Linked DNA regions of Homo sapiens: regions 1 and 3 are each linked to region 2. The links are contacts of gene promoters, found by promoter capture Hi-C in blood cells and fetal thymus (Javierre and others, 2016). All regions are on one chromosome and are shown on one strand. The core of a region is centred on a gene start or on the middle of the fragment in contact, and the rest is flanking DNA. Distances in the headings are between cores, read along the strand shown.

The links. Contacts are between HindIII fragments. The CHiCAGO score rates a contact against its expected background, and 5 or more counts as called.
Region 1: a contact is called between a fragment that was not itself captured here and the fragment with the promoter of ZNF284 in region 2, in 1 of 17 cell types (neutrophils). The highest score is 5.7, in neutrophils.
Region 3: a fragment that was not itself captured here is called in contact with the fragment with the promoter of ZNF284 in region 2 in 1 of 17 cell types (naive CD8 T cells); the score reaches 5.2 in naive CD8 T cells.

Annotation. Positions count from the first base shown.
Region 1 is chr19:44,510,201-44,515,266 of GRCh38, reverse strand. It overlaps CEACAM20 (CEA cell adhesion molecule 20), which reads left to right. Exons shown (of 12, transcript NM_001102597.3): 7 at 1,978-2,095; 8 at 2,314-2,399; 9 at 3,189-3,250; 10 at 3,595-3,630; 11 at 4,112-4,237. Among named protein-coding and RNA genes, the nearest start is that of ZNF180, 12 kb to the right of the region's middle. The HindIII fragment of the contact is 3,813 bases long and covers 1,910-5,066 here.
Region 2 is chr19:44,069,359-44,074,463 of GRCh38, reverse strand. It overlaps ZNF284 (zinc finger protein 284), which reads right to left and starts at 2,305. Exons shown (of 5, transcript NM_001037813.4): 1 at 2,173-2,305. The HindIII fragment of the contact is 12,821 bases long and covers 1-4,280 here.
Region 3 is chr19:44,338,800-44,343,760 of GRCh38, reverse strand. ZNF112 (zinc finger protein 112) reads left to right here. Exons shown (of 4, transcript NM_013380.4): 2 at 3,219-3,345. The coding sequence starts at 3,222. Among named protein-coding and RNA genes, the nearest start is that of ZNF112, 15 kb to the left of the region's middle. The HindIII fragment of the contact is 713 bases long and covers 2,211-2,923 here.

The sequences.
Region 1 (5,066 bases), core at 2,567-5,066, 440 kb before region 2:
AGCAGCTTCTATCATCATCATCATCATCATCATCATCATCATCATCATTTGTCAAGCATCTGGTATGTATCAGGCACTGTGCTAGTAGTTTTATACAAGATCTCATTAATCCCTTCAAAAGTCTATAGAGGCCGGGCACTGTGGCTCAAGTCTGTAATCCCAGCACTTTGGGAGGTTGAGGCAGGTGGATCACATATGGTCAGGAGTTGAAGACCAGCCGGGGCAACATGGTGAAACCCAATCTCTACTAAAAATACAAAAATTAGCCAGGCGTGGTGGTGGGTACCTGTAATCACACTACTCGGGAGGCTGAGACAGGAGAATCACTTGGGAGGCAGCGAGGTTGCAGTGGTTGCAGAGGAGGGAGAGGTTGCAGTGAGCCAAGATCGTGCCACTGCACTCCAGCCTGGCCTTAAATTTTAAAATTTAAAAATTTAAAAAAAATTTTAAAAAGTCTATAGAGTTTGGAATTCTTATCCTTGCTTGGCATATAAAGAAATGGAGATGCGGCCAGGCATGGTGGCTCATGCCTGTAATCTGAGCAGTTTGGGAGGTCGAGGAGGGTGGATCACCTGAGGTCAGGAGTTTGAGACCAGCCTGGCCAACATGGCGAAACCCCATCTCTACTAAAAATACACACACACACACAAATTAGCCAGGCATGGCAGTGCACACCTGTAATTCCAGCTACTTGGGAGGGTGAAGCAGAAGAATTGCTTGAACCAGGGAGGTGGAGGTTGCAGTGAGCTGAGATCACACTATTGCACTCCAGCCTGGGCAACAGAGTGAGACTCCATCTCAAAAAAAAAAAAAGTGGAGATGCAGAAATGAACCTAAGAATCCCTGAAGCACCCCAGGAAGTTCCCTCCTGCCCCTCCAAAGCAGAGCTCCTTCCTCACCCTCCTGATCCTTGTAGCTGTGTTCTTAACTCAGTGGCTCGATTCCACCCTTTTGAGAGAGGTTCAGGCAGAAGTGAGATGGGCAATCGGCAGGCCAATATTGATGAAAACAATTGCCATTTATTAATCACCTAGTATGTGCCAGGTGTTAACATTCATGATTTCATCTCATCTTTGCAAACATCCTGTGCTATTTACAGATGAAGAAATGAGACTCAGAAATGAATTCACTTGTCCAGGGTCACATGGCCGCAGTGAGTCAAGGGGCTCTAAGTGAAAGCCGGGTTTCTGGTTGCCAAAGCTCTTTTCTCTGGTCTGTGCCTCTATTCTGGGAGGAAAGAAACACAAAGCCATATTTGATCCATTATCCTAACTGACATTGTCATCATGGCCAACATTTACTGATCACTTTCCATGGTTCCAAACAAACACTATATATATAGAAAATGAATACATGTATGTTTAATCTTTCTAGAAGCCCTATAAACCCTATTGTTCCCATTTTACAAAAGAGACAACTGAAGCCTAGAGAGGTTAAGTAGCATGCCCAAAGTCACACTGCTGAAATTTGGACGCAGAAACTGGATGTTTTAGTTTAGAAATGATGCTGTTAATACCACAGACTGAGGTCAGGTGCAGTGGCTTACACCTATAATCCCAGCACTTTGGGAGGCTGAGGTGGGCGGATCACTTGAGGTCAGGAGGTCCAGACCAGCCTGGCCAACATGGTGAAACACCCCCTCTCTACCAAAGAATACAAAAAATCAGCCTGCATGGTGGCAGGTACTTGTAGTCCCAGCTACTAGGGGAGGCTGAGGTGGGAGGATCACTTGAACCTGGAGGTTGCAGTGAGCTGAGGTCACGCCACTCCACTCCAGTCTGGGTGACAGAGCAAGACCCTGTCTGAAAAAAAAAAAAAAAAAAGCAAAACCAAAAACCACAATCTGATACCTCCCAACGACTGGAAAACAAGTGCTCACAAAATGTCAGTAGAGAAAAAGCTGCAAGCTTGGGAACGGGCTGGGAGCAGGGATGAGGGTGTGTCAAGCCTGGGTCTTGATTCTGTCTCCTTGCCCAGGTCCCCAGTCCTCCTCCCTGTCCTCAGGGGCCATCGCTGGTATTGTCATCGGGATCCTGGCTGTCATTGCTGTGGCCTCAGAACTGGGCTATTTTCTCTGCATCAGAAATGCCAGACGGTAACACAGGGATACAGGGAGGGGGATGGGGATGGGGATGTGGCCAGCAGGGGGCGCTTGCCGGGCGTGTTGCTGACCATGGTGCTGAGTCTTGTCTGGCACCTGGGGAATTCAGAGGGTTGTGGGCATTGTTCAAGAATGGACATGGGATATGGGCAGAACCTGTGGAGATGGGCAAGGACTAGAGGCACAGAATAATGAGGGCTTTGGGGTTTCAGGCCCTCAAGGAAAACAACAGAGGACCCCAGTCATGAGACCTCACAACCCATCCCGAAGGAGGAGCACCCCACAGAGCCCAGTTCCGGTAAGTGACTCTATGGTGGCTGATGCCTGGGGCAGGGGTGAGGGCTGGGGAAGAGGCTGGTGCTGGGGGCTCCCAGCTTTGCCACCAGGTCACTGTATGATCAGGGCAAGCCCTGTCCACTCTGAGCCTCTGTGTTCCCATCTGGAATTTGGATGAGATTGGAGTCAAGCCCTCTGATGGGTTCTGCCTGTTCCAACAGTCCCGGCAAAAGCAGGACAACAGGCTGGAATTCTCTCCTTTCTCAATCTCAGAAGACTTTTTTAACTGATTGTTGTAGACAGAATGAATCAACCACAACACTCCTTCCTGCTGAATCCAAATCCAGCCTCATAACATATCTCAGTAGAGTGCCTCGAGTGCCCTCTACTGATGGGTTAGAGTTAACCAAAGACAAAATGAAACGTATTTGCCATCTCTGGGTCTGGGATTCTGGAAGGATAGGCCTTTTGATATGGAAGGCTTTCTAGAAACTGTCCAATCCAGCCCCATTTTATAGAGACGAAAACCAAGGCCATTAGGGATAAAGGGCTAAATCCAGGCTACAGAGGACCCAGTGTCAAAACTGGGCTAGAATTTAGATTTCTCCCCTCATCTGTGTCACCAAACAGCCTTACCTAACCCAGACCTTGATTGCCAGGACATTCCTGGTCAAGCTCACTGGAAATATGACAGGGAGTCCTGGGAAGGATTTCTGCACTTCCTTCCTGGGGTCAGGGGTCCTGGAAAAACAGCCCCTTGCCCCATATCTCTTTCGAACTCCAGCTCCTGACTGAGATTCACTTTTTCTAGAAAGCCTGAGTCCTGAGTATCGCAATATATCCCAGCTTCAGGGACGGATCAGAGTCGAACTGGTGAGTGATGCTGCAGAGGGAACCCTCCTTGATCCCCTGACCAGGCTGCTATAGTCTTACTTCTTAGGGTGGGGGCTGGCATGATCTTTTGAGAAAACCCAGTGCCAGGTTAAGTCTCTCTGCATCTCCTCCTCTGACTTCTCTGAGGATCTCAAGACCCTCCCGGGTTTTTTCATCTCTTCTCCTCGTCTTCTTATTCTTTGACATGACAATTCCTAGCTTTGAGCCCTCTGGGAATCAGAAGTGCTATAATTGCCTCTGAGGCCAAAGCTATTTCTGAGCATCTCTTGGGGTAGCCCCTATTCCAAGCCCTATGACCTCTCTGCAACTTTGTTTTTCCCCAGATGCAACCACCAGACCTTCCAGAGGAGACCTATGAGGTACATTGGCCCTGCTGGGTTTGGTTAAAGAATCTATGAAGGAAAGACAATCTGAAAATTTTATATGTGATAAGCCTGAGAGATCATCTTGTCTAAACATTTCATGGCACATCACAGGGCCAGGGATGGGAAGAGAGTAGCCTAAGGCCTCACAGAGAGCTGGGTCAGATGCCATGACCCTGGATCCTCTTTCGTTCCTTCCACCTCCAGGGCTTGGAATTGGATTGCCAATGAGGTGGTACTGGACCAGCACATGCTGGGGTGAAAAGGAGGCTGGGAGTAGAGGTTGCAGATCCAGCAGGAAAAAGGAGAGTTCTGGGCCAGGGCAAGGGCCTGGGTTCTAACCCTGCTTCCACCTCTGATTCTCTGCAAGAACCTGAACAGATTCCTTCCACTCTCTCGGTCCCTGAAGAGTGTAAGTTGGTACATTCCTGGCAATCTGTGTCTGTGGGCCCTGCCTAATTTCTCTGCTTACTTGCAGACGAAGCTGCCTTCAGCAAGCCGTAGAGGCAATTCTTTCAGCCCCTGGAAGCCACCACCCAAACCTCTGATGCCCCCACTCAGATTGGTCTCCACTGTGCCAAAAAACATGGAGTCAATCTATGAGGTATGTTTATGCCACACTGAGTCTTTGGACAGGTGGAAATCTGTCACCAATCTGCTTTTTCTTCCCTACTAAAGAGTCTGTAGGATGAACTATGAAGAAAAATTTCCCTTTAAAAATCTTCTCAATTCCATCCTATCCATTTCCATCATGTCATTTTCTAGTTGGTTTTACTTCATTCCTTTCCAACGCACTCCATTTTATTGCATTCCATGTTTCACTCCACCCAATTCCTTTCTATCCATTTAGCTTTATTCATTTTCTGTATTTCTATATCACTTCACTCTGCCATTTTCTTTCCATCCCATTGGGTTTTATTTCCTTCCACTCTATTTCCCCCCATCCCAGCTCTTCCCATTCACTCTACTGTATTCCATGCCTTTTATTTTCTTTCTTCTCTTTCTTTCTTCCTTCCTTCCTTTTTCTTTCTTTCTTTCTTTCTTTCTTTCTTTCTTTCTTTCTTTCTTTCTTTCTTTCTTTCTTTCCTTCCTTCCTTCCTTTCATCTTTCTTTTTTTTTTTGAGACAGGGTCTTGCTCCATCACCCAGACTGGAGTGCAGTGACTCAATCTCTGATGACTGCAACCTCTGCCTCCCAGGTTCAAGGGATTCTCCCACTTCAGCTTCCCGAGTAGCTAGGACTGCAGGCACGAGCCATCACACCCAGCTAATTTTTGTATTTTTTGGTAGAGACGGGATTTCACCATGTTGGCCAGGCTGGTCTTGAATTCCTGACCTCAATTGATCTGCCCGCCTTGGCCTCCCAAAGTGCTGAGATTACAGGAATGAGCCACCCTGCCTGGCTCATTCCATGCCTTTTCATTCCATTCCACT
Region 2 (5,105 bases), core at 1,056-3,555:
GTAAAGAGTATATGAGAATTTCTAACACTATTTTTGCAATTTTTCTATAGGTTTCAAATGATATGAAAATAAAACGTTAAATATTTTTTTTTTTTGAGACCGGGAGGCAGAGGATGCAGTTTCGCTCTTGTTGCCCAGGCTGGAGTATAATGGTGCAATCTTGGCTCACTGCAACCTCCGCCTCCCGGGTTCAAGCGATTCTCCTGCCTCAGCCTCCCGAGTAGCTGGGATTACAGGCATGCGTCACCATGTCTGGCTAATTTTGTATTTTTAGTAGAGATGGAGTTTCTCCATGATGGTCAGGCTGGTCTCAAACTCCCGACCTCAGGTGATCCGCCCACCTCGGCCTCCCAAAGTGCTGGGATTACAGGCGTGAGCCACCATGCCCGGCCAATATCAGGAAACATTTACCAAAAAAAAAATGAGATAACGATGAGATAAATTAGGATGAGCATGATATAACATGTAAGTTCACTAGCTATTTCCCTCTTGGCAGTGTTTCCAAATTTCCATAGTTAAACACATAAGGGAAAACACATTTTTTTAATCATAAAATTTTGTTTAAATGTTTATAAATAAATATGCAAATATGCCAAAGAAAGACCAAAAAGAAATGCACCGGGTGCGGTGGCTCACGCCTGTAATCCCAGCACTTTGGGAGGCCGAGGCTGGTGGATCATGAGGTCAGGAGATCAAGACCATCCTGGCTAACACGGTGAAACCTCATCTCTACTAAAACTACAAAAAAATTAGCCGGGCGTGGTGGCGGGCGCCTGTGGTCCCAGCTACTCACACAGGAGGCTGAGGCAGGAGAATGGCGTGAACCTGGGAGGCGGAGTTAGCAGTGAGCCGAGATCGTGCCACTGCACTCCAGCCTGGGCAACACAGTGAGACTCTGTCTCAAAAAAAAAAAAAAAATGCACTCGAAGTTTAACAGTTACTATCTTTACATGCTGGATTCATGGGTAATTATAAACTTGTACTACTCGTATTTCTCCAATTTCTGAACGCTCCACAATCATACCGCTGCATAACAAGTGAAATATTTGTAATAAATGAAATAGTTCTAATGAATGAAATAGTTGATAAACTCCCAGAACAGTCCAAGCCCATAAGCCTTGCTCTCAAGGCTCCCTTCAATCAAGTCCTAGCTTGCTTTCCCCACTAGATTCCAGCTAGTTCCTCTGCCTCAATGAGAATGTATCCAAAAGATTATCAACTAAGGCTCTGACCTGTAACGCCCAGGTTTCAACCGCAGCTCCACCTCTTACTGCTTAGGTGACTATTCTCAGATAACTCCTGCTCCTTTGTATCTCACTCATCTTTAAAACTGAAAAAAGTAGTACCTCTCCACAGAGCCACGGTGTGGCGAAAATGTGACTACTTGTATAAAGCTCTTGGGATAAAGTTACCAATTGAGGCTTAATTATTATCAACACCCATGCCTGAGGACACATCCTACACTCTTGGTCGGGGTGAGCATCTCTGTAAAAGAAAAAAAGCCAAGGACCACTCTCGTGGAACTTTGCCCTCAGTAGCCAAGAAGTCCCTCCCTGCAGCTCTTTTTGAGAATCAGGCTGGGGAAGGAGAAAGCTGTGAAACACCCTGACCGCATTGCCGTCCGGCATAAAAGTTAAATGTTCCTCTCCCTTCGTGGAAATGGAAACAACCCTCGCCTTCCTAAAAAGAGGTCAGAAGCGTCCGGGATCACCCAGCGTCCTGCAGGAATCAGAGACAAGGGCGGGGATCCCTGCAGATGGAGCTCTGACCCCACCCGGGGACCTGACAGGCTTCGTGGGAAATAAACACTAAGAAGAGACCACCAGTCACTAAGGGAGGGGCTGCTTTAAGGCTTTCATTTGTGTTACCTCTTCCAGTTCCCAAAACGATTTCATTAGGATGGTCCTAAAGTCCCCATTTTAAAGAACAGCAGTGGGAGGTACAGGGAGATTAATAACATCCCAACCCTAAATTGTGAGAAAGTAGCCTCACAGGTGGGATGGAGGGAGGCGGACTGAGCGAGCTGAGAGCCCCAAAAACCCTCAAACCAGGCGAGACGCGTCCCGACCAAGTCCCAACCCCCAGCCTCATGCCCGGGGACGCGAGGACAGCCCCAAGACCAAGAAGGCTCCGCTGACAAGAACGAAAAGAGAGGCCGTTGTCCCTCCAAACCTCCGTTTTCCAACGAGACTCCTTCTCCCCTTAGTCAACTTCCAGGTGGTTGCGAGCCAGCATCGTAAGGGGACACGTTTAGAAGGACCGACAAGACACAGGACTGACACCAAACTACCACCGAATGCACTGCAGCAACCTCGCCCCCCGGGAGCGGAAGTGCCCCTACCCCGCGCAGCGTGTGAACTACATTTCCCAGAATTCCCCGGATACGCCGTCCTGAGCCTACTTGCTCGTCATTCAACAGATCTCCTGCGCTACACTTCCTTGAATCTCAAAGGAGACGTTCTATAGTATCACCTTCCGGCGGGAAGCGTGGGACTCCGCGGTGCTCTTTGACTACACTTCCTGCAATGCCCACGAGGAATGAATCCCATAGACCCAAGCGCCTGGTTTGGAATATGGACTGTGGCCCTGAGAGTGGTCCTTCCCTCTCCCTGCGTCCTCGAGAGAAAATATTGAATAGACAGGAATTCCTGAAGTCTACACGCCTCCCATGATGACAGGAGTGTTACTGAAAGAGAACAAAGCAAGGAGATACAATCTTCAAGGAGTTAGCGGGGAGTGACTGTGGAGCGGTCAGGAGATGGCTGAAAGGCTAATATACTAGACGCTAATAGTATGAGGCTAAATCTAAGAGCTTAAATAATGGGCCAGGAAAAATGGTTTGGGAGAGGCATTGAGTGGGGCACCAGCCCCTGGTACAACCAGACACTGTTGTACCACTGGTTTGGCAAGAAAAACAACCACAGTTTAAGTGTTTAAGAGGGCTGTAAGAGTTAAAGAGAAAAAAAAAAAAAACACGAAAAGCGGCTCAACAGTCAAAGACAGGTTCGTTTTGGAGAATAAACCGAGAGGGCCTTCTGGCCGATTGCAGTCAGGAGCGCTCTCTCTTACGGACTAAGAGTATGTATTGGCTTTAGGGAGAGAGAGCTTACCACAGGCTTAGAATGTTTCTGTATTGGGGAGAAGTCTGTTGTGGGGTTGGAATATCTCTGGTTGGAGGGGAAGTTATCTTGGGACTGACATCTCTCCAATGGAAGGGAGGTTATCTCGGTGCTGGCATGTCTCTGGTCAGGGAGGGGTTTATCTTATGGTTGGAATGTTTCTGATTGGAGATGTCATTTGTGGTTTATGGTCATGCTGACCTTAGCCATTAGGCTGATGCCCTTTGGATTTAGGCAGTTTTTGATCAACGCGAACTTTAAAATGGCAGTGTTTGTCCAAGATGGCGATGCTCCTGCCCTGTCAAGGGCCAATATGGAGGGCCAATTGCCCTCCTGGAAAAGCTATCTTCCCACTTTTAAAGTTTTCATATTAATATTCTTTAGACGTGGAAATGCCACATTTAAGAGAAATTAAACTGCTTAGTATTGTGAAAGGAAAATATCTTGGGCCCCCAAAATCACTAAGGAAATCTCAAGCTGGAAATCGCTTAGGGCAAACCTGCCTCCCATTCTATTCAAAGTCACTCCTCTATCTGTCCTTGCTATCACGAGAACAGCATGGGAAAGACCCACTCCCATGATTCAATTACCTCCTACTAGGTCCCTTTCATGATATGTGGGAATTATGGGAGCTATAATTCAAGATGAGATTTGGGTGGAGACACAGCCAAACCGTATCAGTATGTGTAGATTTCTTATTTTCCATTATTACTTAAAAGAAAGCACGTTTCTAACTCTTCTATGGTCATGTAACAACATATCCTAGAAATCACTTCATGTACAGTACATTCTTTTTAGTGCTGCGTAAACTAGAAAATCCAGAAATAAATTTCTACACCTACAGTGAGCTCATTTTCAACAAAGGTGCTAAGTATATATATTGGGAAAAGGACAGTCTCTTCAATAAATGGTGCTAGAAAAACATGATATCCACATATAGAAGAATGAAACTTCAACCCTGTTGTTCACCATATACAAAAATAAAATCGAAATGGATTAAAGACTTAAATCTAAAACCTCGAACTATGAAACTACTACAAGAAAACATTGGGGAAATGTTCCAGGACATTGGTCTGGGCAAAGATTTCTTGAGTAATACCCCAAAAGCATAGACAACCAAAGCAAAAATGGACAAATGGGATCACGTCAAGTTAAGAAGCTTCTGCACAGCAAAGGAAGCAATCAACAAAGTGAAGAGACAACCCACACAATAGGAGAAAATATTTGCAAACTATCCATCTGACAAGGGATTAATAACCAGAATATAAGAAGCTCAAACCAAATAGGAAAAAATTTAATAAATCAATTTTAAAATGAGCAAAATATCTGAATAGACATTTCTCAAAAGAGGGCATACAAATGGCAAACAGGTATATGAAAAGGTGCTCTACATCATAGATCATCAGATAAATACAAATCAAAACTACCATGAGATATCCCACTCCAGTTAAAATAGCTTTTATTCAAAAGACAGGCAATATCAAATGTTGGTGAGGATGTGGAAGGAGTGAAGGAGGGAATCCTCGCACATTGTTGGTGGGAATGTAAATTAGTAGAACCACTGCGGAGAACAGTATGGAGGTTCCTCAAAAAATTAAAACTATATCAAAGTGATATCTGCACCCTCCCCTGCAATGTTTATTGCAGCACTATTCACAATAACCAAAATTTGGAAGCAACCTAAGTATGCATCAACAGGTGAATGGATACAGGAAATGGACATATACACAATGGAGTACTATTCAGCCACAAAAAGAATGAGATTTTGTTATTTGCAACAATATGGATGGAATTGGAAGGACATTACATTCAGTGAAATAAGTCAGGCACAGAAAGACAAACTTCACATCTTCTCACTTATTTGTAGGAGCTAAAAATTAAAACAATTGAATGCATGGAGACAGAGAGCAGAATGTTGGTTACCAGAGGGAGGGAAAGTTAAGGTTGGTGGTGAGGGAAGTGGGGATGGTTAGTGGGTACAAAACT
Region 3 (4,961 bases), core at 1,318-3,817, 270 kb before region 2:
ATAACAATCATATATTGTTGGCACTGTGTGGTCTGGATTTTGCAGATGACAGAACTGAAACATTAGAAAGGTTCATGAATTTAACCATGGTTACTCAGCAAGTATATGGTAGCACCAGGTTTTGAACGTAGACATTTTGTCCCCAGAGTCCACTTTTAACCAGTACATGACATGCCACTACCTCTCCTTTCCCACCTCTCCCAGAATCAGAATGAGCATGCTGGGAGCTGTAAGGCATGTGAGGCTACTGGGTACAGCTGTGCAGGTTGCTCCGTGCATGCGGGCACCCTGCCAGGAGAGCCAAGTGGTAGCTAGAATCCAACCCATGCTACCTGCTCCTTAACGCCGGTGTGTGGCCACATCTGCTGGGGGAAGGGACACCTTTTTCTAATTTGCACAAAGATACGTTTCCCTTTTAATCATGGCTTCTTTCGTATTACCCTGTTCTGCCTTCTCAGGTCTCTGCCTTTCTCTAGAAAAAGAAAGAGAAAAATGACCAAATTCCAGGTGAGCTGGTTTTCATTTATGCCGTTTTACATGTGACCTCATTTTGCAGTGAGTGGACATATCTTTTTCCCCCTTCTTTGCCAAGGGTAAAGAATGACAACAGGCATTTAGTATCATTTATGTATCAGGCTCTTGCTTTTTGTTTTTGTCCTTTTCTAAAATTTCCTTTTAGTTGTAAATGTGTTTTATTATTTATTTCATAAATAATAGTACAAAGAAGAATAGAAATTTTAAAATCCTACACCTTATTACCCTGCTTACAAATCTGTTTTTGTCCATGGTCATTTTTTTAAATATAACTGTTCTTGCATTAATACATAACAATTTTGAATTTTTATCCGCTTAATTTTTAGCAGTTAATTTTTATCATCTAATATTATTGACGTAAACTGTTGTTATCCCTCTCCCCCTTTTCTTTTTCTTTTTCTTTTTTTTTTTTGAGATGGAGTCTCGCTCTGTTGCCCAGGCTGGAATGCAGTGGCATGATCTCGGCTCACTGCACCCTCCACCTCCTGGATTCCAGCAATTCTCTGCCTCAGCCTCCCGAGTAGCTGGGATTACAGGTGCCTGCCACCACACCGAGCTATTTTTTTGTATTTTTAGTAGAGATGGGGTTTCACCATCTTGGCCAGGCTGGTCTTGAACTCCTGACCTCGTGATCTACGTGCCTCAGCCTCCCAAAGTGCTGGGATTACAGGCGTGAGCCACCGTGCCCGGCCCTTTTCTTTAAATTATTTCCAACTCACAAGCTTTTACGTTCCTGAGGATTCTTGCAGTTTTACATTGCAGTATCAGTTTTCCTACAAATAATCTTGACTCAAAAACCAGTGTGAGAGAATTTTGATATTATTTGTCCATAATGTTCTAGAGACTCAAAACTAAAAATATTTTCTCCTAAGTGATGTCTCAGGTGGAATACATAAAATATGATTTTGTCTAACAAGATTATATTGAAGCTAAGGTTGGGGGAAAAATAGATGTTTTTGTACAAGAAGAGCTAGATTCTTATATAAGAAGAGCTAGATTCTTCTCAGTACCTATAGCTATGTGTTTATCTATATATGTTTGTATGTCTGTGTGTGTTTCATTATTCATGTATTAATTTTATTAGAGTAATACAGGTACTTAGTTTAAAGTTTTTAGTCATACCATAGGATATATAGGCACTTTGCATCTGTCACACTATTCATGGCCCCAGATGACTGTTGGAGGGGAACTGTAGAGTCGTTTGCACTGTTAAGAGGTTCATGTTCATACAGGAAGATAAGCATTGGGCCAACTCTAAAGCCTTTGCTTTCTGGGCCAAGAGTTTCAGGCATATCACTTGCGTGGAAAGACTTACAAAAAAGCAAAGCAAACCAAAGCAGAGTTCTGCATTCAGAGCTGAAGCTGTTATGCTCAGAACTGCAGCCAGAAGAAATATGGGACTGAACAGTTGTTCATTTAAAAATTTAAAATTACCCTACAGCAAAAAGTTACAAGACAGCAAAGTGGAATGAAAAATATTTACAATGTCCATGGAAGAAAAGACCTCGGTGTCCTCCAAATGAATTATTATTACAAAACAAGAAATCGAGATGAACAGCAAATGTGTGTAAAGAGAATGAACTTTATTACCAATAAGTTTGTGAGAATGTTTTTAATAAATGATTTTTACTTCCCAAATTTACTTGTGAGATTATGAAAGATTTTTTTAAAAAGCTTTCATATCCAGTGTTGACTATGATTTATACTTTCTTGGAAGAAGGCTAAGATGGAAGGCGAAAGTCTGTTTTGGGAAAACACCTGCCATTATGATTTCAGAACTTTAAAGGTCATTATTCTTCAGCATTGCCATTGTTACTTTTTGGTATTTATTTTGAGGAGATAATCAACAGAATTCCAGAGGTTAACGTCAATGCAAAAGATTGTTTTTGCAACATTGTTCGTATAGGTAACCTCAAACTAAGTGTGCATTAGTTGGATCAAATTATTATATTCTAGACCATTAGTTCTCTGAATTACTTTGCAGCCCAGAAATGGGATAGAAGATATAATGAAAATATTAATAATGTAGCTAACATTTGTTGGGTACTTACTGTGTGCCAGGTGCTGTTTTCCATGCTTTACATGTGGTCACTCATTTTATTACTAGGACTGTATGGTATAAGTTTCACCATACAAATGAGAAGATAGGAAACTTGTCCAAGATCATAGAGCTAGCATTGGGCAGAGCGCCCAGATCCAGACACAGGCAGTCAGGCTCCAGAGCTGTGCCCATCACTGCAGCAGTCTCCAGATGAGCACAGAGGATGAGCTACATATTTGAGCAGTAAGGATGACTGATACCCTGTAAATTTGACAAATTAAATAAGTGATGTGTGTGTGTGTAAATGAGGAGAAACAGGTAGCATCAGTCACTGTTAGAACTAAAGCTTTTGTGGAGCAAATGACATTATTATTACAATTTAAAATATTGGTAACCTAGGGTGCAACAGAGTTCCAGAGGCTTACTTATAAGTGCTAACAAAAGGAAGTAATTTCAAAGTGCAAGGATTTCTTTTCTTGCAGCCCTTTTGGTGAATGGTATTAGCATTACAGAAGGTAAACAGAAGAGAACTATGTAAATGTGACTCAAGTTGCCCAGACTCCAGAACAGCTTCCAGTCCTTTACACCTTCTCAGCACTGCCCTTCTTCTGTAAACTTAGTGTGCATGTGTTTGGCATTGTAGGAGATGGTGACATTCAAGGATGTTGCTGTGGTCTTCACTGAGGAGGAGCTGGGGCTGCTGGACTCTGTCCAGAGGAAGCTGTACCGAGATGTGATGCTGGAGAACTTCAGGAACCTGCTCTTAGTAGGTGAGGATAGGTGCCCTTAGTTACTCAATGGCAGCCTCCTGGGGTGTCTTTGTGTGCTCAATTGTTAGAAACTCTGAAGCCCCTGAAATTATTCTCTGAGATTAGGTGCCCGAGAGTCCTAATAATCCCCGTGCAACACAGACAAGATGTTTCTGATGGTTTTGTCCAGTCTATCCTTGGAATAGTAAATATGGTCCTGCTTCATTGATTTGCCATCAAACAGTTTAGTAAGTTGTTCCAGGTTAGTAAGTTTATTTTTCAGGGCACCAGTAACTGTTGATGAACTTGACTTTTTAGAGGGGTTTTTTTAAAAAAACATTATATTTGTAAATAACTTTAAACTCACAGAAAACTTACAAAAGGACAAGAACACCCATATAGATTCGCCAAGATTCTACCTGGATTCACCTCTAATAACATTTTACCCTATTTGCTCTATCATTTATGTTCATGTTCTTTCCCTCTCCATACATACTTATGTATGTATATGAAAAAATATATATAGTCATAATATCTTTTTCTGAACGACTTGAGGGTAAGTTAATATACCATGGCCGTTTTTCTCTAAATACTTCAGTGTATATACAGAGTTCAGGAGTCCCCAAGTTCACTCTCACCTCTGATACCAATTGCAAGATTAGGAGTCCCCAAGACCCAAGAGTACTGAGCCCCACACTCAGGCTCAATAATTCACTAGAAGGACTCACAGAACTCACTGAAAGCAGTTGTCTTCACAGTTAATGATTCATTACAGGGAAAGGAATCAGATTAAAGTCAGCCTAGGGAAGAGGCCCAGGAGGCAGAGTCCAGGAGCGTTCCAGATGTCAGCTTCCACTTGTCATCTTCCGTGGAGTTGTGGACAGCACTGACTTCCCAGCAGTGAAGTATGACAATACGTAAGGAGCATTGCCAGCCAGAGAGGCTCATTTGAGCCTTGGTGTCCAGAGTTTTTACTGGAGCTTAGTTACCTAGATATGATTGACCACCTGGGTGGCTGCTCTTAGATTCCAGTTTCTCCAGAGGTTAAGCTAATACCACATGGCTCAAAGCCCCTACTATAAATCACATTGTTTAACTATCTGGTGTGTGGCCCAAGGCTTCTGGGTAAACGAAAGACACTCTAATCGGGCAGTATATTCCAGGGACTTAGCGATTACCTTCTCCAGAAGCCAAAGGCAAAATCCAGATCTCTCTTTAAACAAAACTAACTCTTTCCTTTACTGCACAGTCTGTTTTATAAAAAGAGGAATATTCTCTTACCTGTTCTCAGGACAGATATAATGTTTTTATCTTATCTATCATTTATGCTGTGATTTTATCCATAAAGCCAATTTTATATATATATTTTTTCTTTTGAGACAGAGTCTCACTCTGTTGCCCAGGCTGGAGTGCAGTGGTGCAACCTCAGCTCACTGAATCCTCTGCCTCCCAGATTCAAGTGATTCTCGTGCCTCAGCCACCTGTAGCTGAGATTACAGGCAACTACCACCATGCCCAGCTAATTTTTATATTTTTATTAGAGATGAGGTTTCACCATGTTGGCCACACTGGTCTCAAACTCCTGGCCTCAGGTGATCCACCTGCCTCAGCCTCCCAAAGTGCTGGGATTACAGGCA